Linked DNA regions of Homo sapiens: regions 2, 3, 4, 5, 6 and 7 are each linked to region 1. The links are contacts of gene promoters, found by promoter capture Hi-C in blood cells and fetal thymus (Javierre and others, 2016). All regions are on one chromosome and are shown on one strand. Each heading gives the region's core, a stretch centred on a gene start or on the middle of the fragment in contact. The rest is flanking DNA. Distances are from core to core; before and after follow the strand shown.

Evidence for each region. The method cuts DNA at HindIII sites, captures the fragments that hold promoters and counts their contacts. A CHiCAGO score of 5 or more calls a contact.
Region 2: a contact is called between a fragment that was not itself captured here and the fragment with the promoter of PEX2 in region 1, in 1 of 17 cell types (non-activated CD4 T cells). The highest score is 6.1, in non-activated CD4 T cells.
Region 3: the fragment with the promoter of IL7 here is called in contact with the fragment with the promoter of PEX2 in region 1 in 2 of 17 cell types (total B cells and erythroblasts); the score reaches 7.1 in total B cells.
Region 4: a fragment that was not itself captured here is called in contact with the fragment with the promoter of PEX2 in region 1 in 1 of 17 cell types (total CD4 T cells); the score reaches 6.3 in total CD4 T cells.
Region 5: a contact is called between a fragment that was not itself captured here and the fragment with the promoter of PEX2 in region 1, in 2 of 17 cell types (non-activated CD4 T cells and naive CD8 T cells). The highest score is 7.4, in non-activated CD4 T cells.
Region 6: a contact is called between a fragment that was not itself captured here and the fragment with the promoter of PEX2 in region 1, in 1 of 17 cell types (activated CD4 T cells). The highest score is 5.3, in activated CD4 T cells.
Region 7: a contact is called between a fragment that was not itself captured here and the fragment with the promoter of PEX2 in region 1, in 5 of 17 cell types (non-activated CD4 T cells, total CD4 T cells, fetal thymus and 2 more). The highest score is 12.6, in non-activated CD4 T cells.

The regions. Positions count from the first base shown.
Region 1 is chr8:76,997,875-77,001,735 of GRCh38, forward strand. PEX2 (peroxisomal biogenesis factor 2) reads right to left here and starts at 2,204. Exons shown (of 4, transcript NM_000318.3): 1 at 2,116-2,204. RefSeq lists an enhancer at 2,199-2,493. The HindIII fragment of the contact is 1,935 bases long and covers 2,175-3,861 here.
Region 2 is chr8:78,674,612-78,678,060 of GRCh38, forward strand. ZC2HC1A (zinc finger C2HC-type containing 1A) reads left to right here. Exons shown (of 9, transcript NM_016010.3): 2 at 1,176-1,252. It also overlaps a transcript of IL7 not described here. Among named protein-coding and RNA genes, the nearest start is that of ZC2HC1A, 10 kb to the left of the region's middle. The HindIII fragment of the contact is 4,456 bases long and covers 1-3,449 here.
Region 3 is chr8:78,802,980-78,806,827 of GRCh38, forward strand. IL7 (interleukin 7) reads right to left here and starts at 2,484. Exons shown (of 6, transcript NM_000880.4): 1 at 1,934-2,484. The coding sequence starts at 1,943. It overlaps MITA1 (metabolism induced tumor activator 1), which reads left to right and starts at 1,493. Exons shown (of 3, transcript XR_002956715.2): 1 at 1,493-2,716. The HindIII fragment of the contact is 3,968 bases long and covers 486-3,848 here.
Region 4 is chr8:78,490,599-78,493,967 of GRCh38, forward strand. The region is part of intron 2 of LOC105375911 (a long non-coding RNA gene); the gene reads right to left. Among named protein-coding and RNA genes, the nearest start is that of PKIA, 24 kb to the right of the region's middle. The HindIII fragment of the contact is 2,516 bases long and covers 47-2,562 here.
Region 5 is chr8:78,530,091-78,533,890 of GRCh38, forward strand. The region is part of intron 1 of PKIA (cAMP-dependent protein kinase inhibitor alpha); the gene reads left to right. The region is part of intron 2 of LOC105375911 (a long non-coding RNA gene); the gene reads right to left. Among named protein-coding and RNA genes, the nearest start is that of PKIA, 16 kb to the left of the region's middle. The HindIII fragment of the contact is 1,347 bases long and covers 800-2,146 here.
Region 6 is chr8:78,657,029-78,660,687 of GRCh38, forward strand. All of the region lies in intron 1 of LOC105375911 (a long non-coding RNA gene), which reads right to left. Among named protein-coding and RNA genes, the nearest start is that of ZC2HC1A, 7.2 kb to the right of the region's middle. The HindIII fragment of the contact is 2,397 bases long and covers 1,164-3,560 here.
Region 7 is chr8:78,511,386-78,515,109 of GRCh38, forward strand. The region is part of intron 2 of LOC105375911 (a long non-coding RNA gene); the gene reads right to left. Among named protein-coding and RNA genes, the nearest start is that of PKIA, 3.1 kb to the right of the region's middle. The HindIII fragment of the contact is 5,573 bases long and covers 1-3,724 here.

The DNA of each region.
Region 1 (3,861 bases), core at 954-3,453:
CTACAGGGCTGGGTTTAAAAGAGCAGGATTACAGACAGGGCAAATGGAGCAATTTAGGGCTTTTCTCCTGAGGTTTCTTGTACATTCCAAAGGAATAGAAAAGGAACATGAAACATTTACAAACTGTTATCACTTCACAGAAAAGAGGTACAGAGAACATCCAATTTGCTTCTAGGTTGTCCAACTCAGATCATCAAAAGAGGAAAAAATGAAATAATTCAAGAGAGAACTTCTGGCCAGAAATAAAGATTGTGTACATTCACACATTTTCCTTGTGCTATTGGAACCTGAGAATGTGGATGGTGTGCAAGAGGGAAAGAAACTTACAATTATTTGATGTTGTGAGAAAAACATGGGGCTAGGACTGAGCTCTTTTAATGGGTGTGATGATGAGCAAGCCTGCTAATACCTTTAACGTTCAGGTACCAAATATGTAAAATGAAAAATACTTGTCCTCCCTACGGCAAGAATCATTATGTGCATCAAATATAAGCAAAACTTTTATGGCTAAAATAAAAGGATATGGAGAAGAAGGAATAATAAATTCTAATTCTGTTCATAAAGAAAAACATTTCAAATTTGTATTGATAAAATAAATTGAAACAGAATAGGGACATATTTGTAGCTTTTAGAAATAAATTAGCTGTGAATATATTATTTTTAAAAACTGTAATAAATGTACATTGAGTACAAATGAATAATTATCCCAAAAACCAGAATTTTAATGCTAGAAGAAAAGGCAGATCATCTCGTTTAAGACATAAATTTAATCTTCTTAACAAGAACCTTGTTATTCAAGCGGAACACCTAAATGGCTGCTCTTGTTAAAATAAACCTGAGGGTGGGCTTGCTTTGTCTCTCCCTGCACGGCTCCAGAAAATTTCTACACAAGTTCTCCTATGGAACAGTTTTAAAACCCCAGCTTGAGTACTAACACTAGTTTCTAAAAATAAGGAGAATACGGCCAAGAGGTAAAATTGTACAAAGGCAACTAGAGTCAGGACTAGAATCCAACTGTCTTGATTTAGTCTAATACTCTTCAGTCTACTAGTCTAGTATTCGCTCTATGTCCTGTTACTTCTATTTTTTTTTTTAAGAAAAAAATATGAAGGGTTTTTTTTTTTGACTCTGTAAATAATTCTTTCAAATCTCTTTCTGGCTCAAGATCACTCAACTGTAATCTTTCTGGAAACAAGTAATTGATAATATAGGTGAGATCAGATAAGTTAAAAGAGCCACCCCAAGTTCATTCTGTTCAGGATTAAGTAAAGGTAACACTTTAGGGGAAGGTGTTTAGACTACAAGCTGCGGTGTTGTGAGCGCCCAAGTATCATTTAATTGTCCGAAACGTCAAGATAAAATATTTCCGAGGGGCATCACGGAAGTTTAACAGAATGTGTTAGACTTGAACGTTCAACAGCTTGCTCATTTTGCCAAAAGCCCTTTCACTAAATGTGGGAAATTTGGAAAATGGTACCTCAATAAATAAACAAACAACGATTTTTAATTTAAGAACCCAGGAAAAAATGTTAACAATTCTCACATTCAGATTTCTTATCAAAAGTCAACGTGAAATATAACTAATTTATCGCAAGCAATTTTATCAGAAACTTTTCATTATCTCTTCCTCCATAAGAAAACCAAACTGCATTTACGTGCGCTTTCAACAGTGTTAGAAAACTAAGCACTCAAATTTTTTGTACTACATATAACACTTTACATGAACTTTCAGATATTAAGTAAAGTTTGGATCCTCAATTCTTTATAAAGCCGTTTATAAGAGGTAAATATCTTCACGACCGCCAAATGAGAGAAAAAGATTTCGAAGTTCGTCTCTTAAGTTACTACGTGGAATGCAGAGGGGCTCAACTGCAGCTGTGTGTGTGTTTATTTTTAATGCCGCGATCCTAAAAACATCTTTAGGAGTTTAGGTTTGCTTCACTGCCTTTCCCAAAATTCAGCAGCTTTGATTTGCCTTTTCCAGGGAGACAGGAAGCCAATAAACAGGGAAAAAAAAGCAAACGGCGACAATTACAAGGTCGTGAAACTCCACGACCTCCCAGCTGAAAACAAGACCTCGGGTTTGCACTCCGGCTCTCTAGGGCAGACACTGACCTTAGGAGTCTGCGAAACGCCCACGCTCCACGTAACTTTCTCTGAAACATTCTCTGGAAAGCTTGTCTTTTCCTAGCCGAATCTGGATTACCAAGGCTTCCGGAACTCGCAGGCTTCCGGAGCGACGCAGGAGCCGGAAGTGGCTGAAAAAAAAAAGAAAAAGTTACACCAACGAGAACTGCGCTTTAGCGGCGCTGCTGAAGGCACTGGATGGCCAAACAACCGCGAACGCCGACAAGCCGAAGAGCCGAAGGGCCGAAAAGCCGAAGCGGACACCCGCGCGCGGTGATTGGCCGGTTGGCCGGAAGAACTCTGTCTCTGATTGGCAGGAGAGTCACGAACCGGTCAGCCCCGGGTCAGGGGCCGCAAGTGAGGACACTACAAGTGTCGAGGGGCCTAGGGGAAGCCGGGGCTTGGGAGGGCAGGGCTTTCTCTGCTTGCGGACATCGCGAAGGGCCTCTGGCAGGCGCCGCCGGGTGGCGGCGAGACGCCTCCGCGCCTCCGGGGTTCCTTGTTCGCTGTCGGAGGAGGACCGGCTGAGGGATGGCCTGGTGGGGAGGGAGCCCTCGGGCAGGTGGCTGCGTCGGGCCTGGGGCAGTTGTGCTGCGCTTGGAGACCTGCCCGCCCTCGGGGCCTGTGTGCACAGGGAGGATAGGCTGTTTATCTCTGCAGGCTCAGGAAGGCAGGTAGCTGGCCCGTCAGTCATCCGCCCTGCAAAGCGCTCCCGAGAGACCCCGTAGAGCGGGCCAGCGCGCGCCTGGCCTGAGGTTTCCCGCCCCCGGAGGCCCTCACATCTCCCCGGTAACGCTTAGGAATTCGGGCAGCCAGCTCGCCTACCCCTGGGGAATCGAGGCAGAGCTTCTGGGAATGGGGTCTGAGGGAAGAGTGCTCACCAGGCAGTGACATGTAGCCGTTGAGGATCGCCACTGCCTTCTCGTTCTGTGGTATGAATGGCAGTGTCTCTCTAGAGAGTTAGTGCTTAAGTTTGAATGATGGCAGGCACTTCAGGATTCCAGCACGTAGTAGGGTTTAAGAACGTCTTAGTTCTTACCTCCAGTCTCGACTCACCGTTCCTACAAGGAACACTCACTTCTACGAAAGCTCTATTAGACATTCGAGGGAGAGCTTATACTGTAGAACCAGTGTTATTAGGAAAGTTTTTTTTTTTTTGCTTGTATTTTTATTTCAGAAACTACCCATGGAGCAGAGTTGCTAAAATAAAATTTATTAACTCTAATGCTATCCAAATTGTGAAACAATGGTACAAATGAGATAGAGTAGAAGCTACAAATTGATAGAGTATGTAGTTCACTTAGGGGTTTGGGAGTGGATTTTCTAGAGCTGCAACTGTCCAGTGTAGTAGTCACTGGCCACCTGAAAAGTGGCTAGTCTGAACTGAGGTCTGCTCTAAGTGTAGAACATGCACCAGATTTCTAAAGCGTGGTCTGAAAAGAAAAAGAATGTAAAGTATTTCATTAATTTTATATTGCTTACATGTCAAAATGAGAATGTTTTGGAAAATTTTAAATTACGTGGCTTCCATTATATTTCTATGGATACTGCTGTTCTAGAGAGTAAAAAAATCTCACTGAAGAAGAGTAGGCCTTTCGTTTAGCAACTGTGAAGAAAACCAACCACGCTGCACCTCTCAGGTAGCCTACAGATGTGCTGTGCTTCACTTAATTTTTGAGAGGGACGGGGGAAAATACACACAAAGACTTGATTGACATAGAGGACATTTTCAGA
Region 2 (3,449 bases), core at 757-3,256, 1.7 Mb after region 1:
ACTGCTACTACACAACATTGCCTCCATCTGAGATGAAAAGTAATCACTATCCACCAGTCAAGTAGGGCAGTGGAGTAAGAAATGAGAAAACAAAACAGTTCTTCTGTTACTGTATTTGAATGCATTCTTACCAATATCTATTTTGGTTTGCCTGTTTAGTTCTCTGTGAACTCACTAAATGTCTTGGATCAGGTTATATGGAGTTATATAATTGTACTTTTTAAAATTAGTTTGTTACTTCTAAAGAAAAATGTTTTTCTATTTGTCTTTCATATGATAAAAGAATTTTAGCATCTCTAAAATATTCAGCAGAAACTATGGGGAACATGTTACATGTTTAAGTATCATTTTTAGGAAATTATAGCTATGAAAACAAGTTTATGTTTGATATTTGGAAATAAAATAAAATGACAAAATGAATTATGCAGAATCACAAAGAATGCAGTTTCTTTTTTTGTAGTTTCTTTTTTTTTCTTTTTAGTAATAACATTTGTTGTATTCAGTTACATGATAGTTATATTAATTTTATTAATAATTGAGTGAAAGTTGTAGCTACCTCTTTATTTAATTTTGTTTGTAAGGTCAGAATATCTCCATTTACTAGTCCACTGACTCTTAATATAAGTATTATATGTATAAAATAATAATTCACATAATACATGTAATTTGCATAACTAGGTGATCTTAATCTTATAGCATTGTACTTTCTATTGTTTGGTGGTAAACAGAGTAAGATTCGTTTTATTCTAGATTCTTCAAATCATCTCAGGAAGTCACTGAACTCATCACTAATGGTATTTCTTCATGCCTTGGAAATTAATAAGATAAATTTTGTTCTTAAAATGTAGTAATTTACCATAGAGATAGCCTATAAGTTAAGAGAATATGACAAATTGATTTGCTTAAAATAATTACAAGAAAACTAGATATTTCCAGCAGTATCAGTTTGGATATCTTTAAATCATGACTCCTCCATATTTATCCTGACCTTTTTCACCACTGATAACTAAGTATTATGCTCCTTTTCATAGATAATTTTGCTTATTTCAAAATGCAGTAAAACATTTTTCACAAAAACTGATAATTTACCTATAAAACTAAGAGAAAACATTAAAATGTGAAGTTTCACAATTTCAAGTTATATAAATTATTTATTAAATTCCTTCCTGTTTTAGAGAATGGAGGTGTTGTCCAAGTTGGAGAATTGTTACCTTGCAAGATTTGTGGAAGAACATTCTTTCCAGTAGCATTAGTGAGTAGACTGATTTTGTACCTTTATGGTTTTACAGATCTGTAATTGTTCAATAATTCTGGTCAATTCTCATGGGAAGAATTTACGTGGAATAGTTTTTGAAGAGTTAATGGGTACTATTCTTTGTTCAAGGGTCTTGATTTCAGCTATGCCATTCTTCCAGAATGCTTTCTTTCCTTCAGAGTTTGGTCTTCAGAACTCTTCTGTTAAAGTTTAAAGGTATTCCTCATTTTACGAGACTCTTACCAAAAACAAACAAAATAAAAAAAAAAAAACAAAATCAGATACCTTAGAAATAAGTAATTATTTACAGATACAAAATAATATAATGTCTGTAATTTGCTTTATAGTACTTCAGGAAAAAATCAGGGATAGATGAAACAAAATAGCTAAAATGTTGGGAGTTGTTGAAGCTGGGTGATGAGTAGTAAATGGTAGTTAATTATCCTTTTCTGTCAGCTCTTATTTATGTTTGAGATGTTTCAAAGACAAAGACTTTTTCAATGTAAAAGTACACCTAAAATTTATTATGCATTCTTAAGATATGTTAGCTACTTAGTAAGTACAAATAAAAACGCTTTTAACTAATCTTAATAAAGTTAGCTAACTAAATAGGGAATAATAAAAATTATGCCTATGTACCTTACGTATTTTAACTTCAAACACAAATACACATTTATTAATACTTTAATGTAAGACAGAATTTTTCTGTGAATGTATATCTGCTGATTAAAGTTCTGCCATGATCCACTGTGCATCCTCTTACTATTTCTAGTTTGTTTCTTTAAAGCAAAGTGAGGAATTAATGATCCAAAGTGTCCTTCTGACTGTAGGCACCTTTTAAATAATGATGGCTTTTTTGTAATCTTTTAAAAACATCTTGCCCACACATTCAATGATTTTTTTCTTATCAATTTATTATTTTTCAGAGTGTTCAGCTGAATTTCACAGCAAAAAAAAAGTGCCTTTTTTGGCTCTCATTTATGTGGTATTTAACTTAATGATGTTATTATAACACCTGAAACTTGAATTATGTTGGGAAACAAGCACCACATACACTTGACATATATAACTTAATAAGGAACATATGTACATGGGTCCACTAGATAGTCATCTGCTATCCTCATTTTTTAAAAATACTTAAGAGCTGTAATTACAGTGCTTGGTTGTTGAAATGAAAACTGAAAATAAGTATGTAAAACACTTGATTGCTAATTGTGTACTGAAAGCCTAAGAGGCTGCAAGACACGAAATAATCCAGTTTTGAGGTTTTATTTTTTCCCAAAGTTTGACAGTTCTACCTTCTTTAGTGTTTGTCAAAATACAAAAGAAAAAAGAGTATTTAGTTTACCGATGTCATCAATCATCATGCTTAATATAGTGGAGGGAGAATGTTTATCCAGTTGGCTTATTGGAGGTCATTTAAGACAGCTTCCATTCTAATGTCCCTAAACTGAATAACTGAATAAATGAATGAATGGACAACTCTTTAAAAAAAAAAATCTGAATAGTAGTAGAACACTAGATAAGCTCAAGAAAAATCTTAGGCGAAGAAAACTGCAAAGTTTGAGTTCCAGAAGGGAGGAAAAGAATTAGTATGGGAGAAGGACACAAATCAGACCACCTGTCCTATTATTTTGTGTTAACTTTATATTAGCATATTACTATTATGTTAACTTTAGTAATCCAAACTACTACTCTTACATTAACTTTTGTAATCCTAAAACTAATGTATTCTTTGTATTTTCTTTTTCTAGTATCTATGTTCAGGCATTTAGTGGAGACTTTTTTTTTTGCAGTGTAGTAACTTTGACTTTGTTACTTTTTCTTATTCTTAGTGTTACAGGGCAGATAAATATTTTACAGAAAAAGGGTCCCAATCCAGACACTAAGAGAGAGTTTTTGGATTTTGCACAGGAAACAATTTAGGGCGAGTTCGCAGTGCAAAGTAAAAGCAAGTTGATTAAGAAAGTAAAGGAATGAAAGAACGGGTACTCCATAGACAGAGCAGCCCTGAAGGCTGCTGGTTGCCCACTTTTATGGTTATTTCTTGATGATATGCTAAACAAGGGGTGGATTATTCATGCTTCCTCTTTTTAAACCATATAGGGTAACTTCCTGATGTTGCCATGGCATTTGCAAACTGTCATGGCGCTGGTGGGAGTGTAGCAGTGAGAATGACCAGAGGTCACTCTCG
Region 3 (3,848 bases), core at 1,234-3,733, 1.8 Mb after region 1:
CTTGTTACAGTAGGTTATGTGTCAGGGTTAAAAGCAGAAAAAAAAGTCACATAGATGAGTGTGAATATGACACGTAAGTTCGTTCTATGAAATGGCCTTTTCCATTTTTTAAAAAAATATTCAAACACTAACGTGATGCAGTTTGTAATTCTCCTTTATGCTTGTTCAGGGTTTCTAATATTAGTTCTCTATTATTATTTTTTGAGACAGGGCATCACTCTGTTGCCTAGGCTGGAGGACAGTGGTAAGATCATGGCTCACGGCAGCCTTGACTTCCAGGCTCAAGCAATCCTCCTGCCTCAGCCTCCCGAGTAGAGTCTATTTTTATTGCTATTCAACTTTTTGGTCCTCAAATATGATGAAATTACCCAAACCAGATAAGACAGTTGGAGACCACATAGTAGATCCTCAACTACTTCAACTCTCAAAAGAAATGGCAAAGACAAAGGGTAAAGAGTAACATTATGTGCACTCTTAATGGAACAAGCTTCTAGTGAAATTTCTTGAAACAAACTTCAGGAAGCCATGCATTATAATCATTATTATTAGAATTTTAATATTTTGTCTGCTAATGAAAACTTATAGCCCATGATTCATATAACTGTGCTTCAGGAAGTAAAGGCTTTTTCTGAAAAATGCACACGCTAGCTTCCTTTTCTCAGTTTACCTTTCTACTTTAGAGCAGAGGTGTTGCAAGGATTAGAACCAAGGGTGATCCAGAAGAAGAAACTGCAGAACTATGGGCATTGCAAGGAAAATAGGGTTGTGCTCAATTTTTAGTTTTGTATTAAGCTCCGGGAGGACATTCCTTAGAAGTCCTCCATAATTACGTTGGCTATTCTTTCCGCTCTCTCTATCTTTGTTTTGTTACTGAGCTGGCACTCCTTGGTTGTGTCAATTCTTGATTCTTTACCCACGAGAGTGGAAAGAAGTCTTGATCTAACGGAGTAGCCATCAAAAGAAAGAGCAGTCAGTTTCCTATTCCCGCACCCTCCCCCCAGCTGTCTTCTTGCTTGAGGAAGTACTTACTGTAAAGCATTCCAATTTTCCTAAGCAGATCTTTTCCCCTCACAATCCTTTTTCCTCTTTTTTAATTCCAGTAAGTTTTTTGGCTCTTTCATTGGTCATATATGACTGCCATCCGAATCCAACCCTCCTGAATTCTGTCCCTGTCCATTCTAAATCCGTATTCTGCACAAATAAGATATATTAGGTCTCAATACTGGTCTGGAAGTTAGAGTCACGCCTATTTCATTCTGCCTCCATCAAGAAGCGCCCGTAGGAAAAAATAACAACAAAAACAAAAACAAAAACAAAAAAACCCAGAAGCTGGCCTTCCTCAGCGCCAGCCCCAGGACTGGTTTCCCAGCAATAGGCGCAAGGTACAGCCCTTGCCGGAAACTCCCAGTCTTACTCAGGGGGGAAAAATGGGGTTTTCCGGAGACCTGTTCCCCTAGGGTTTAAAAGCGCGTCCCGTGGGAGCTTCGCTTTCACTTCTCTAGGGAGTTCTGAGCTGCAAGAGCCCAGCTACTCGCCGAACCCGGGCCGCCTGCGTGAGTAACTTGGGGCGGCCAGGAGCACGGGAAGGGCGCCAGACAGAGAGCCTTTGGCTGCTTCTGAGACCGGCTGTGGGCTGCCACCGCTGAGCGGCGCGGAGGCTGCAGCGTTCCCTCTCAGGACAGAAAGCAGGCGTTGGGGACTGTTACTCGCAGCCTGCCAGGGGCAGCAGCCGCCCCAGGTTCAAGTGGCTATGTGCCAGGATACTCAGGCGCGGCTGTTGGCTGCCCATGGGAGAGCCAGTGCTCTCCGCAGGTCCAAAGTGCAAGGCCGGGCTATTCCCGGACTTGCCTAGGAGCAGGGGCCCCCAGCGCGTCTGGGATTGCCCCGGCGCGTCGGGCGCGCGAACTTGTGCGCAAGGGAGAAGAGCGCTTACCATGGAACATGGTCTGCGGGAGGCGGGCGTAGTCATGATGACCGCAACTGGAGCAGGAGCAAGCTCTCACCGCCCATAGTCACTCCCAGGACCCTGGTCTTCCGCGGAGTTGCCGAGTCTGTGTTGGGCAGGGTGATCTCTGCAGCTGGTTCCTCTTACCCACGCCGCGACTGCAGTTTCATCCATCCCAAGGGGGGCGGCACACACTACGGCGTGGCTCTGCGCTTTGCCTTTTCCATAACTTCCGTAGGATCCGCCAGCAGTGTACTTTCAGTTTCTACTTTGCGCTTGGTCTGCAGGTTCAATCTTTGGGATCATCAGCATGGAATCTTCATTATCCCCTCTCTCCTGGGCACCTGCTTCCCGCGCACCTGGATGAGGACCAGAGGAATTCGCGAATTTCCGAATCACCGCAGGAAAAACCAGCTGGCCTGAATCAAAGCAATTCTGGGTAAAAGACTTCCCAGATGATCTCTCAACGCCTTGGCAACGCTTGGCGACTGGGAGCTAGAACCATGAGTTGTTAATGTGTGCACGGAAGCCACAAGTGTGCAGGACGCAAGCTGGGTTATTGGAAGCGGACGACACCAAGGAGGCGTTGCCGCGGATGTGGTGGACGATGCCAAGTCGTCTTTTAAAAAAGGAAGTGAAGAATGATTAAGAGGGTCACGCCCTCTACCACTCCAACCTCTCTAATCAGTCTCTTTCTGCTCCGTCTGCTGTACATGCACCTGCTCAGGTGAGACCTCAAGGAAAAATAATCCTGTGGGTCCACCTAATCTGGTAAGTGTTGTATTTGGAAAATCAAACCCCAAATTAAACGCAGGACGTGGAAACTGACGATAATATTTAACTATGACTTCCACGTGCACATTTATCTGAATTGGCTAATAAATCAAACTATTCGTCTTGAATGCATGCCACTGAAATGTTAACTTTTTCCTGGGCTTGAATTATGTAGCTTATTTGCTACATTAGTTTGGTTTCTGCTATTCTGCAGAAACCCTGCTTAGATGAAGGTGGATAATGTAAACCAGTAACAACAGCGATAATAATAACGACTATCATTTATCTAGCATTTGCTCTCTGCCAGTTTTGTGCTAAGCATTTTATGTATATCATCTCATGCAAAACTTTGTGTGAGGTAGACCATTTTCTTATCTGCACTTTACAGATGTGGGGACTGAGACTTCCTTAAGTAACTTTCCAAATTTCACTTAGCTAACTGAGCTTAGACACAGACTTGCTGCATTTGGGCTGTAGAAACTCCTGCTTGGAACTCCTGTGAATAAAGTAATAATGTGCACACTGATGCCGGGAGGGAGATGACAGTACGTGTGTGGCTTTGCCCCAGTGTGGGGACTTCAGGAAAGTTTCCTGGAGTCTGTGACTTCTAAACTGACACTTGAAGAGGAATGAACTTGGGGCTGGTAAGGAGTATGTCACATTCTGCTATAGCGTGAACAAGGAAGAGGAGGGAAGGAGAAAGGAAAAAAAAGGATGGCAATGAACTAGGGAGAACAGAGTTGCTCAAGCCTGAAACTTGGGTCTCTGATTCCTTTTTTGGTCTCATTTCCCACATCAAATCCATAGACAAGTCCTGTCTGCCCCACCTCCAAAATTAACCCTAAGGTGACTATAGAGACTGTCTAAGGGATCTTCCAGCTTTCACTTTTGCCCACAACCCCTTCATTCTTCTCAGAGCAGCAGGATATCTGATTCTATTTTGTGCCCCACCTTCTGGTCACTTCCCACTGGGTACCAGGCCCTCAGTGCCCTGGTGATCTGGGCCCCACTGCCCTCTCTGACGTTTCGTGGTACCACATCACTATCCTCCAGCCACAATGGCCTTTCTCTTCCTGCCCAGCGTCCACTTACTATGGTCTTTAGCCCATGGCTGGCATTCAGTAAGTAC
Region 4 (3,369 bases), core at 55-2,554, 1.5 Mb after region 1:
ATGAAAACTACACAGCCAAAGTAATACACAACAGTAAAAGACTGAAAGCTTCTCTCCTTAGATTAGAACAAGGCAAGGATGTCCACTTTTGCCACTGTTATTTAACATTGTACTGAAAGTTCTAATTGTACCCATAACTTATACCATATACAAAATTATGCAAACTGTTCAAAACTGAACTGTTGGTTCAGTTTGTAGTTTTTTTTTTTAATCAGTGTCTACTGTTTTTCTGGCCTGAGTTTTGAACCTAAACATAAAAGCTAAAACCATAAAATTCTTTAAAATACATAGGGATAAATCTTTATGACCTAGGATTTGGCAATAACTTTGGCAATAAATTCTCACCTCAAAAATGCAAGCAACAAAAGAAAACACATAAATCTGACTTTGTTAAAATTGAAAACTTTTGTTCGGCAAAGGACATTACTAAGAAAGTGCAAATACTACCTACAAAATGGGAGAAAATATTTGATGTCATATATCTGATGAGGATTCAATATCCAAAACATATAAAGAACTCCTACAACTCAACAATGAAAAGACAAAGAAAATTAAAAATGGGCAAATAACTTAAAATATTTTAACTCCAAAGAAAATATACAAACAGCAGTAAACACATGAAAAGATGTACAACATTATTAATTATTAGGTAAATGCAAATAAAAACCACAATAAGATACCACTTTACACCTACTAGCATGGCTATAATAAAATATGAAAGGGAAAATAGCAAGTAATGGCGAGGAGGTAGAGAAATTGGAACCCTCATATTTTGCTATTGGAAATGTAAAATGGTATAGCCACTGTGGAAAACAGTTTGGCAGTTCTTCAACAAGCAAAACATGGAATAACTATTTGACACAGCAATTCTGCTCCTAGATTATACACCAAAGAGTTGCAAACAAGGACTCAAACAGATATTCTTACATCAATGTTTTGTACCATTACTCACAATAACCAAAGGTAGAAACAACCCAAGCGTCCATCAACAGATGAACAAAATGTAGTATGAAAATATGATGGAATATTATTCTGAAATAAAAAGAAATTAGTTCTGATATGTGCTGCACCATTAATAAACCTTGAAAACATGAAATATGCTAAGTGAAATAAATCAGGCACAAAAGGACAAATATTGTATAATTAAATAAAATATATAGAATATGCAAATTCATAGAGACATAAAATATTGGGTACAAGAGCCTGGGAGGAAGATGAATAGGAGAGTTATTACTTAATGGGTATAGAGTTGCTATGTGGGGTGATGAAAAAGTTTTGGAAATGGTAATGGTGATGGTCGCTCAACATTGTGAATGTACTTAATGCTACAGAACTGTACATTTGAAAATGATTAAAATGATAAATTTTATGTTACTTGTATATTATCACACTAAAATATTCAAAATAAAAACATAATGGGTTTATACTGTAAGAAATGTACATTTTTTAAGATCAATAGTTAGAGGAATAGGTCTCCTTTCAAAGTCTTTGTCTTCTTACTTGAAAAGTGTCTTCCCAATGTACACAGAAGCCCAAATGCAGTAGACAGTGTGTTTGGAACATAGAATATATGTAAATTCTTTAAAAACTATATAAAGTATTTCAAAAAGAGATGACTAATTCAATGTAGGCGGACAGTTAAATAAAATATGTTGAAAATATGTAGGTCTCTGAGAACTCCTTAACAAGGTCTTAGGATCAACACACTGAAAGGAATGTTCTAAGTTTTTGTATTGTCCTTTTAAAAAAAAAAATAATATCCAGATGCTCATTTTGAAATAAAACTATTTATTATTAAAAAACCAGTAAAAAGATAAATTCTCCAAATACTGTATTTCCAAAAGTGTGCTTGGCCAACTATTTCCTATAAAATTGCACTTACAAGAAAATCACAAATATAGTTATTATTTCTTTGTTATAAATTGTAATACGATTTCTACGTGCTATCACTTAAAATGTAAAGGGCTTTTTAAAAAATGTTCAATACTGATACCTTAATTTTTTACGTTCTTTTCTTCTTTTTAATCTATAAATACATTTTGATACTTTTTGAAATATACGTTTTAAATGTTTCTCTTGAAAAAACTTGTACCTAAACAATAAACACCGTGTATCTATACACTACAACACATTTGAGAAAAATTAATATCAGCAAAATCATACTATTACTGAATATCTTTTCTCTGTGGCTATATCACTTAACTCTATGTGTCTTTATGATTCTTATTTATAATAACGGCAATATAATTTTGTAAACCTATTTTGTAAGGTAATTAAAAAGAATTTAAATTATGGCAAAACCACTGATAATCAGCATATAATAAGATGTTTGATGAAATATGTAAACTCTCCTTTTTTTAATCAATATTTATAAAATTGTAGCTTTTTTTCTTCTTTTTTAACTTTCCTGGTCTAGTAAATTTGGCAAGAAAACAATAAACAGATTTTATTCAATCATTTGTCAACACAGTAACGAATTCCCATATTGCTTCAGGATGTAAACCATGTGTCCTGTGAAGGATTCATTGACAAATGCATTTATGCTTTTCTGCTCTATTGACAAGCTTTTAAACATAAAGAATTGGTCTCTATGATTTATATTCTGATTTCATGTAGGAAGTAGGCTATGCTAGATAAAAATTTAAATACACTTTTGATGCTCGAGGCTAAATGTACATATCCATCTAAATGAAATTGTGCCTTCCCATTAGAACAGGTATGAATAAAACCTAATACAATATTAAAAGATTCACAATTAAGGCAAATATTTATATTTATATAAATATGCATATTTTGAAATAGTTCAATAAAGATAGCTAGATGGAAAATGATAAAGATTAAATTATCTACAATTTAATCCAGTTATAAAATATTAAGCATTAATCTATGATAATGTTCACAGAGAGAGGAAAAAAATGTGTCTCTTCTGCAGCTCCCTCTTAGGATTGAAGTGTCATTTCTCCAGAAGACCCCTTCAGATAAACATTCATTTCACATTGGACAGCACTGTCTTAAGACGTGTTAGTAATTTTAGGCCTCATACCATGAAGATTTAAAATTTTTTTAAAAAAACTTGTTTCCTCTCTCACTTAAGCATTTACATGTAGACAGTTTGAGACTAGCACAGTGATTCTGGTGTTGAATAAGACAGAGTCAACTTCAGCTTTTTAATCCATTCTCCCTAGGATGTGATTCTAATCCTCATAATCTAAGATCATTCTCCACCTTTCAAATCCATAATGAATACACCAGGATGGAGGAAATGGGGATAAAAGGACCCATTCCTCTCTTTGGGACATAACCCAGGACTTCTACAAGTCACTTCTGCTCACACACTAGTGTCCAGAACATAGGCATAGGGAGATGCTA
Region 5 (3,800 bases), core at 223-2,722, 1.5 Mb after region 1:
AATTATGATAATAAATTATATTTTTAAATTATCACATAATTTTCAAAGCATTTTTATAGTCATTGTCTTATTGGACAATACCAACTCTCTAAAGTTGGCAGAACTAGAATTGTCCTTATTTTGCAGACAATGAATTCAAAGTTCATGAAATGTAGTAATTTGCTCTCTTAATCAGTATACACAATTACTAAGTGTTAGAGCAAGAATTCAAGCCTGTTTTGTGCCATGGCCAATCTAGTGCTGCCCTCTATCCTATAGGAACTGGTATGTTTAAGAGTTAAGCATAAACATGGAAATATGCCTGGTCTGCTTCTAGTTATAAATTCACTTACAAACCTCACTGGATCCTGAACTAGGAAAATCTGTAAGGGTTATTTACTTTCATCAACCCAAAGATGAACATGTTAAACAGGTTCTTAGATTTAATTAAACTTTTTTTTTTCCACCATATCTTTGTGTCTATCAGCAGCTCCTCTTGAGTATACCATGGCTTCATTTAAAGAGTTGCATTGCTTAAAAAATAAACATTGACATTGCTGATCATTTACCTGTGTTAAATATGCCAGTCTAGTTTGCATTGACATAATGCTGACATGAGATTGTATCATTTGATTATACACACACACATTTACTAGTTCTAATTTAAGTAGTAAGTTTTGGTCCTTACTAGAACATGATTTATATAATTGGCAACCTAATGGTAAGATGCAGTAATATAATCTATCATGTTAAAAGATAACTGAAATTCACAGAATTCTCTCCTATAACTGCATTAGGAAGTTTTAATGGATTTCTACTAAGCTTCTCTTAAGGATAAAATTTTTTGAAAACAGGTCACTTGTAAGATCTGCCTTAGTTTGTTAATGCTTCTGAAATATCACCACTATAACCTGCTTTTTAAAATAGCCTGACACCTACTAAGTACCCTTTCGCCGCCTACAAGAAAGCATTTATATTTTTAATTTTAGTGAAGAGTTCCTGATTTAAGAATTAGTCATTTGCTGTCATTTGAATTTCAAGTATGTTGTAAGTACTTGAGGTTCTTTCTGTATGAATTTTCAGCGGAGTTTTTACATTTTTCATCATTAATTTCATCTTTCACTTGGGATCAGCCAAATCAAAAAGTTTATGTTCTACCCTTTCTTAGTTCTCTTCATTGCAAACATTCAGAACCTTCTCAAAAATAATATCATGGCTTGAGACTGTTTATTGACAACCGATAATGCCAGAAATTAGTGATTATGGTTTTCAGTTTAAAAAGCAAAATGAGAAACTGAAGAAATGGCGTTTTTCCTCCATTTAGCTGATCAGCTATTCACATCAGTGATCATTCGCTTTTGAGGCTAAGGATACAAATGTTAATGTTTTGTATATTCATAGAAGTGAAAAATAATATAACAGTTATTGTGCTTAGTCTGTGCTAAGCACTATTCTAAAACCAAATGAATTTCTCCTAACAGCAGCCCTAAAAGGTAGGCATTATTATTACCTTTTTGACAGATGGGCAAATTGAGGCACAGAACAATTGAGTAAAGTACCTGTAGTCACACAGCTAATAAAGCACACAGATAGGATTTAAACACCAGGTGGTCTGTTTTGAGACTCCACACTCCACCCCTATAGTTAATATAAGGGTTTGGATCCCTACTCTTTGTTGTATGGCCATTTAATTGCTTTGTGGAAAGAAAGGGAAGGAGGAGAGAGAGGGAAGAAGGCAGGAGAGATGGCAAATTCCTGCTAGCTGGTTGACATGGTGTGCTATAATTTATAATGAAGTTCAATTTAAGGACTTGTAAAGATTTCAATAGAATAGTCTTAAATGTTCACTAATGAAGTATGTGGTAATATCAGATGGAGATAGCAAGTGAATTTCAATTTAGTAATAACCATAATTGTAATTCAATAGCAGTCTCATATTTGGAACAAATAAAATTCAAGTAACTTTTTAACTTTTAAGTTCAGGGGTACATGTGCAGGTTTGTTATATAGGTAAACTTGTGTCATGGGGGTTTGTTGTACAAATTATTTCATCACCCAGGTATTAAGCCTAGTACCTATTAGTTATTTTTCCAATTTGAGTAATTTTCACAGCAATAATTCTACCTTTTCTTAAAATTATTAGGTATTTTTTCACCCCAACACTCAAAGCTTATTTAATATTAATAAAATTTTACCTTTTATAAAAGTCCATAAATTTTAGTAAGGTTGTAAATTAGGCTGAAATTACAAAACAAACAAACAAACAAATTTAGAGCTTTTAGCCAAAGGAAAGCACCCTCATCCCACTCCAGCTCACCCCTGCTCATTTCTATCATAACTGCTTCCCTAAGAAAGAAGAAATTTTTCTAGGCGGAGCTTGCAGTGAGCTGAGATTGTGCCACTGCACTCCAGCCTGGGTGACAGAGCAAGACTCCATCTCAAAAAAAAAAAAAAAAGGAAGAAATTTTTCTGATTGGTCAGATTTAATTGAACATTCACTGAGCCATATTTTACTATTGCATCGGGTCACTGTGTATTTAAAGATACAAAGCAGGCTGGACGCAGTGGCTCACACCTATGTAATCCCAGCACTTTGGGAGGCTAAGGCAGGCAGATCACTTAAGACCAGGAGATCAAGACCAGCCTGGCCAACGTGGTGGTATCCCTTCTCTACTAAAAATATTAAATACAAAAAATTAGCCAGGCATGATAGGGTGTGCCTGTAATCCCAGCTACTTGGGAGGCTGAGGCATGAGAACCACTTGAACCCGACAGGTAGAGGTTGCAGTGAGCTGAGATGGCACCACTGCACTCCTGGGTGACAGAGCAACAGAGCGACTCTGTCTCAGAAAAAATAAAAATAAAAAAAATACAAAGCAATGGTGCCCACATTCTTATTTGTCCAGCGCCTGGTCTTGTGAGAGCAAGTGCAGTGAGTATCCTTGAAGCCTAGACCTTCAAGGTCCTCTCCTCTCTTTCATTCCGTGCACCAGGGTGGGCTTCATCTAGGAGAACAATGGACTCATTTCTGTCTTTTGCCTGTTGGTCCTTGCAGATGAGTCAGGTTTCATTTGGAGCCCAGAAAATCTTACATGCCCTCTTCTCAACATCTTCCTTTACACATGTCTCAGTAAATATTAACATGCTCTAAATATGCCCTTGCCATAACTCTGAACTCAGGATTACCAGAAAGTAATTCCAAAGCTGAGACATTTTCCATATCTTAATCAGCAGATAATTTGTACTTACATTAACACTGACTTGATTATTCACATGTTCGTTTGCAGTTTGAATCTATTTCTGTCTTCAAGTACTTAAAATAGATATAGATTTTAATCAAGATACTTTAGGACTTTTATTACATATTTATTATGTACCTTATTTCAGGCATTTATTGTACTAGGTGCTGGCAATAGAATGTTAAACAGAATGGTATACAATCTACATTCTAATTTTCAAATAAGATTGTTATGAAAGTGTACTTAAAATTCAAACAGGAAAAGAGGGCTGGGCACAGTGGCTCACATCTATAATCCCAGCACTTTAGAAGACTGAGATGGAGGAGTGCTTGAAGCCAGTAGTTCGAGACCAGCCAGGGCAACATAGCAAGACCCCATCTCTACAAAAAGCACTTTAAAAAAATTTGCCAGGTGTTGTGATGCATGCCATAGCCCTAACTACTCTGGAGGCTGAGGTAGGGGTGTCACTGGAGCCTAGGAGGTCCAGCCTGGGCTGCAGGGCAAGACCCTGTATCTAAACCAACAAACAAACAATACAAAGCAAAACAAACAAACAAAAAGACACAAGAAAAGGGTACAGAA
Region 6 (3,659 bases), core at 1,112-3,611, 1.7 Mb after region 1:
TTAGCATATGTTTGTAGGGTGAATTCTCATACGGCTTTTTCTATTAAAAGGCAGCTTCAGAAACCACAGGATCTGATTGTTTTAAGAGCCATAAGGTTTTTAAAACCATGAAGAAGTGCCAAGATATTCATGTAAGTGATAATAGGAGAGTTTTTCTTCTTCATCTTTAGTATAAATCCTCTGATGTCATCGTTAACATTACATACTATTTATTTGTAAACCTTAGTTTCTACAACATAAAAATGGAAAGAATAACACCTACTTCACAAGTAGGTTATCACATGAGTCTATATGGGAAATGGTGTGCATAATAACATATTAACCATAACCATTAGGAGCTAAATAAAACCTCTCTGCTTACCTAAATTAGCTGTTTTGAAGACCATACCCATTCACTCATATTTATCCAGTCATTTAGCAAATATTTATTGAATATCATTGACTGAAGTATTAAACTAAGCTTTTAAAAACAATAATGTTCTATGAAAATGCAGAGAATTACTGTCAAAGGTACTGAATAGATAGTTGATGATCTGTTTATTTACTATGAGCTCTTAGACATCTCCAGGGGTAAAATGCAGTCTGTTTACATATTGCCATCAGTATTTTACATTCTTGGTTTCAAGAATGTAATTCAGGAGAGCAGTGAAAGTCAGGGCAAATTTTTTCATCTCAGACCAAAAGTATAGCTGGGCATGGGATCGAATAACATTTAATAGTAGCAGTAGGCCATTCAATTGGTGCTATTATCGCTTTGTAAAGGAGTCTTAGGTCAGTTTTCTCAGAAGCTGACAGGATTCTTGTGGAAGTTATTTATTTAAAAATAGCTCCCTTTGAGTGAGGACAGCAAGTTAGGTCCTGAGGGCAGGAGAAGAAAGGTAAGCAAGAATGTAGTCTTACGTGAAGACCAACTTCAGGCAAGCCTGAATCAATGGAGTCCGCCTGTTAGTCATTGGCTGTGAGCTTCCCATCAGAGAGGAGGGTCTTAACCTCTCAGATATGGCAGTACCCTTTATGAGAAGGGCAAAGTTATAGATCATCAGCCAACATTCTCAATAGTAGGGGTGAACATCCCTTCCAGAACAGGAGATTTTGGAAAGGCAACAACAACCTTCACTTCTGAATGGCCATTAATATTCATAATAACAACAGAGGCACTGCAAAGCTTTAAGAGCTCTCTTACTTTTAGAGAAATTTCAAAGAAGTTTCAAAGAAAAACTGACTGATAACCACGATAGTCTTTTATAACATTCAAACTGTTTGAAAATTAGTGTTCCTTTAAATTATATTTAAATTCATTTTCTATAAATAAATTCATATAAACAATTTGCATATAACTTAAGGAACGCTAATGTTTTTAGATAATATTTTGTACCTAGAATTTATTTTCTTATGAAAGCATAAACTTTACTATGTTTTGAAAACAGAGCCAGAGGAGATTCTTATTTCTGTTTTGTTGATTATCCATTAGCTGCTAAGAAACATAAATGTACATAGGCTTAAAAAACTCTGCCTCTTAGAAACGTCAAGCAGACAATTGTTAGATAGACAATATGCCAGGTGCATACTTTTGATATACACTCTAAGAAATCAATACATAAATGCATAAAATGGTATATTTTCAATGTAAAAAATGCAAGCGAGCAACTTTTCTAGAATGTTATGTTTGCAAACATGGCATTTGTATAAATAGCTAATAACACATAACTTTAATTACATGTGTATCTACAATAAAAACTGGAGATTTTTCTTAAAGTAAAACGAAGTAACCAATTATATTATTAATTAGCATATGTTTATAGGGTGACTTCTCATATTGCTCTTTCCATTAAAAGGCAGCTGCAGAAACCAAATAATCTGGTTGTTTTATTAATACGGTTCTTTAAGAAGAACCATAAGGGTTTTGAAACCAAGAATAAGTGTCAAAATATTTATTTAGGTGATTTGATAATAGGATAATTTTTCTTTGTCTTTAGTATAAATACCCTGACATCATCATCAACATTATATAATATTTGTAATATTTCATAGCATTTTAAAGCAAGTTTTCAAGGCCCTAGGAAGCTGCTATGATTAATAATGAAGTAAGGGGGAAAGGACTTTTGATAGTTTTCTCTTGTTTTGTTGTTTCTTTTCCTCCAAAAGGAAAGATACATCCGAAAACACTTGGCTGTCCTGGAGACAAAAGGCAAAATTGGACAAAGCTGAAGTGCACAACTTCTCAAAACAGTTCTGGGTATTGATACCTATGCAAATTTTTAGAGTTACCCAGCAACACAAAATAAACTAGGAAAAACAGTTTTTGTTGTCTTCTTACCTCTGTATCTAAATCTCTGTTTTACGAGGATTAAGTTTGGCTATAAATGTAGAACAATCCCCCTTACCTCTTCTTTTCTTTCAAAAAAAAATTGCTTAAGATAAAATTATTTCTATCCCTTGTATAAATTTAGAGATTGATGGTCCAGATGCAAGAGATCCATGCTTCCTCAGTCTTTTACCTCTTCTATGAATGGACTCTATTCCCAAAGTCACCTTATGGTCCAAGATGGCTATTCCAGCCTCAGGCATCCTGCCCAAATGCCAGCCAACAGAGGAGAACAAAAAGAAGGAGAATGGCTCACCCTCTCTTTTTTTAAAGATGCTTAAAAATTATGCACATGGAAGTTATGAATTCTTTGTCATCTGGACTTCTTAGCTGCAAGAAAGACTGGGGAGTAGAGTTTTTATTCCACAGCCATATGCTCAGGTATATATCAGTAATACTCTTCTGAGAACAACAGAACAGTTAGTGGCCTCTGCAGATCCACCTATCTCTGTTCTGTGTTCACTACCATTCAGGCCTCCAGTGGATTCATGCTGTGTTCTGGTCTTGTAAATCAGAGCCCTTCTCCCACATCAGTCTATCTGTATCCCTTTTTCCAGGCCTATTGCCAATCTTCTGCTGCAGTGTCAGATGCACCACAAAGCTAGTTACAAGGTAAATGTGTTTCAAATTAAGATATGAATGCCTAAATATGTAGAATCATCCAAGAGGGAATTTTGTCTTTAAAACTAGAAATACATTTTTATCTTTTGCCTATCCATTCCCCACCCAAACTGGTTGTTTTTTTAGAAGGAGTACAATTAATAAAATAGCATTACTACAAATTATCTAGACACCAACCACATTTCCTTGTCAATACCAACCCTCTTTTTTCCACCATCATTAATCATATATACCTATCTTTGGTGAATTCAGCAATACAAAGAATAACAAAACTTGTCACTGGAATGTATCATAAATATTTCAAATGCAGAATTCATTGCTTGTCAATTGTTCTTATTGATTAAACAAAATAGTAGAAAAAAGCTAAAATTTTACAGATGTATTTTCTGATATTAAACTATACTTTCATTCTTGGTATAGATTTTATTTAATAATAATTTGGTTGAATATGGTTTGCTAACATCTTTTTTATGACTTTTGTATATACAATATACAGACAATCCTATAATTTTTCATATATTGCTTTTATATTGCTTGGAGTCAGAATTATGCTAATGTTAAAAAATTAATTATAAGCTTTTATAAGCTTTTCCTCTTTTTAAATTTTATTGAAAATGTGGACACAATATAAATTATCTGTGTCTTAAAGTTTGGTAAAACTCACCTGCAAATC
Region 7 (3,724 bases), core at 495-2,994, 1.5 Mb after region 1:
CGGAGTGACGAGAACAGGAGACCTGGCAGGAAATGGGGTGACAGATGCTGGGGCCAAATCACCCTGACAACTCCTCTCAATAATAAATCTGAGAATCTAATCTCTGCTAAATTGTTAATGGCAGCAAATGAGATACTCAGTTACTCCTCCTGATAGTGTATTTGCATTTAAATGAGTCCTTTCTGGAAGGACTCCCTTAACCCAAAGGAGTGTTTCTAAATGCTGACAGCTCCCAGCACACAGGGCCTCTGGCTCTGGTTTCACATTTTCCCTTGCTGAGACTCATGATATCACTAGGCCATTTGATCTCTAATTTGAGAATATCAGAAAGGAAGCATTGCAGACCTCAAAGTCAAGATCCAAAGTTTAGGGTTTTTTAAAAAAAAATTTGTGCAATAACAAGTCATAGGTTAAAAAAAATTACATATTGCTGTATGTAAAGTTCCAAGAAGACAGATTCAAACCCTATATGTTGACATAAGACATTTCCCAATATCTTTCCCCTTTTCTTTCTGGTTTCCCTATGCCTCTTACCGTGCTGGAGTATCAGAAGCAGTTCAATCCTGCCATTTAATGTCTTTGACTGTTGTCTTTAACACCATCAACACACTGATTCCTTTCCATGAATAAAAAGTACCTGATAAGAATACTTTGATAGATGAATGTATCTATATTATCACAAGAAACTATCTTCAGTGAGTCTGGCTTCGCAGATGGAAACTACACTGGGGGGTCAAGAAAACATGTTCTGGGACTGTCCCAAGTCGCCACAGTTGCATCCCTACTGCCTCAGGCAACTTGAAGGAAAAGATCAAACATCTTTCACTCTTGAGACAATTGTTGTCTTCATCTCAGAAACAAGACAAAGTCAGGCTGTGAGTGGTGGGGATCCAAGCCCAAGTCTGTTCAACTACAAAATCTCTAACCTTCACAGTCATCTCAACCTTCTGGTTCTCTTCACCTTCTCATCCTCCTGCCTCTTTACTTTATAAGGACTTTTATCTTCAGCATGAGATACCTAGCAAATCCTTCAACTAAATGATAAATTATGAAGGCTGAACATGTTCTCTCATTCAAGGTATTTAGAACTTGCAAAGGAGAAAGGGGACAGAAGCCTGCCCAAGTATGCAAGGATAACACTGACAGAGTATCAGCTCCCTGAAGCTCTGGAGTGGCAATTTCATGCCATCTCATTATAGCCTCACAGTAACAGTCTACAGTTTGTATTCTAAGTTTTGCCATGGCTCCCTTTGACAATCTGAAGCAACCTACATAACTCTTCTTAAAATGATGCTTTTCAATGCATAAAATATAATACGTAGAATTGGAAAGGAAACTACGAAGTTTAAAATACTGTTATCAAAATATTTAAAAACAAAATTCATGATATACAAAGGTATGGGCATTTAAACTCATTAAACACAGTATAGGAGAGTTATATATATTTACTTAAAAATTGTGATATTGTGGGAAAGGGTTAACAATTTTTATACTGCTTTACATGTACACTGAAATTGAACAATTATAACAGTGAATGATGGGAGCCATGATTCTCACTATTGGAATAGGAATTTACAGACAAGCAAAGGGAGGAGGCTAGAATGATCTATGTGTTAAAGGATTAAAGTTGGAAACATAAGTATGTGCTCATATTTAGCTTAATACAGACACAGAATGGTCACATATAGAAATACTTATGTATATATGCATGGGTAAGTATACACATATATTTCTTCACTGTCTTAGTTGAAAGGCCTAAACAAAATGACCTGCCAATAATGACTGTGTCTGGGACCCAGATCTTGATTTGTATTACCATTCTCCCATAAAAGGAACAAGGGCTCCATGAAGAAATGGCTGATTCTTGGAATGAAGAAGGAAGTATACAAGTTGAGACTGGAGGAACTTATAATACCATAAAGTAAGGGATTGTTAACAGCCCTGCTGCTCCTGCCATACACACACACACGCACACTCACACATCAAAGGGGGTATGTCAAAGGAGCACAGGAACCTACTGAAAGAGCTTCCAATGGGCAAAACTGGAACAAATTGAACAACAAAATAAAGTAGTAATTGATTATTACCAAAGGCATAAAATATAATACATCTCCATAAGTCTATAATATTGATATCAATAAGTAATTGAATACTTGGTAGAGAATAGACAGCTCTCCTGTACAGAATTCCATATACTTTATGTACACACTCTGCCCTCAGGGAGGTAGAGCCAAAGTCCCACTCCTTAGGTTTGGGTTTCATGTAGTTACTTCCTACAAGTACAGTATGGAAGGGATGGGCAATAACGTTACAGTAGAGAAACCTGACAAACACTGCCTCAGCCAGACAATCAAGGTCAACACATCACCAGTCATAAATCACATCGGTACTATAGCACCTTGATATGATGTGAGGAAAAGGGACTTTACCTCTTTCTTTCTCCTGCCAATAGTTCGCAACTCCAGTCTTATCATAAGAAAAGCATCAGACAAATTGCAACAGTGAGGCCTTCCAGCAAATACTTGACCACTACTCCTCAAAACTGTCAAGGTCATCAAAAACAAGAAAAACTATCACAGCTAAGAGGAGCTTAAGGGGACATGACAACTAAATTTAGTGTGGTATCCTGGATGGATGCCTGGAACAGATTTAAGGATATTAGGTAAAAACCAGGGAAACTTAAATGTAGTTAGACTTTATTTATAGTTAGTAATAATGTATCAGTATACATTCATTGATTGTAACCCAATGATATGGTTCAGATTTGTGTCCCTACCCAAATCTCATGTCAAATTGTAATCCCCAATTTTGGAGGAGGGGCCTAGTGGGAGGTGACTTGATCATGGGGGAGGACTTCCCCCTTGGCTTTCTGGTGGTAGTGAGTTCTCATGACATCTGGTTGTTTAAAAGTGTGTAGCACCTCCCCCTTCTCTTTCTCCTGCTCCAGCCATGTAGGCCCTGCCTGCTTCCCCTTTGCCTTCCACCATGATTATAGGTTTCCTGAGACCTCCCCAATCATGCTTCCTGTACAGCCTACAGAACCACCAGCCCTTCTTTATAAATTACCCAATCTCAGGTAGTTCTTTATAGCAATGCCAGAATTACACCAAGGTACCTTACTATTGTATGATGTCAATAGGAGACACTGGGAATGGGATATATGGGAACACCCTGTATTATTTCTTCAATTTTTCTGGACACCAAAGCTGAAAAATATAGTCTATTAAATAAAAAAAGTAGTGATGATTTGATTATAACATCAGTGTAGTGATAGAGATATCTATAAAAACAGCAATAAGGAATTAGCTGTTGTTTCTATTGGAAACAAAGTCCCAGGTACTCCTAACATTCTTGTGGTTTGTTGCCTACATTATGTTTAAAGGACATGCTAAATGCTAAATTTCAGTTAGAAGTTAGTGAAACTAAAAATGAGATTTTTCCCATTATACTTAATCTGTATAAAAGGAGTATATGAATAGAATTCCATTTATACAGATTAAGAATCTCCTGCTCTATGGTAATATTAACGGGCTAATGTTATGAAAGTGAGTCTCAGAGCGATGAATTAAGCTGTTCTAGCTTTCAAAGAGCATATATTCTATGACCAAGAATTCTAACTAAGTTTTGTTGGAAAGCTGTTGGCTACATTATCACCTAACTTTGGGACTGATAGATGGATGGAAACATCTCATTTAGCAAAGGTGCTTCCCTGGCCTTGTGCAAT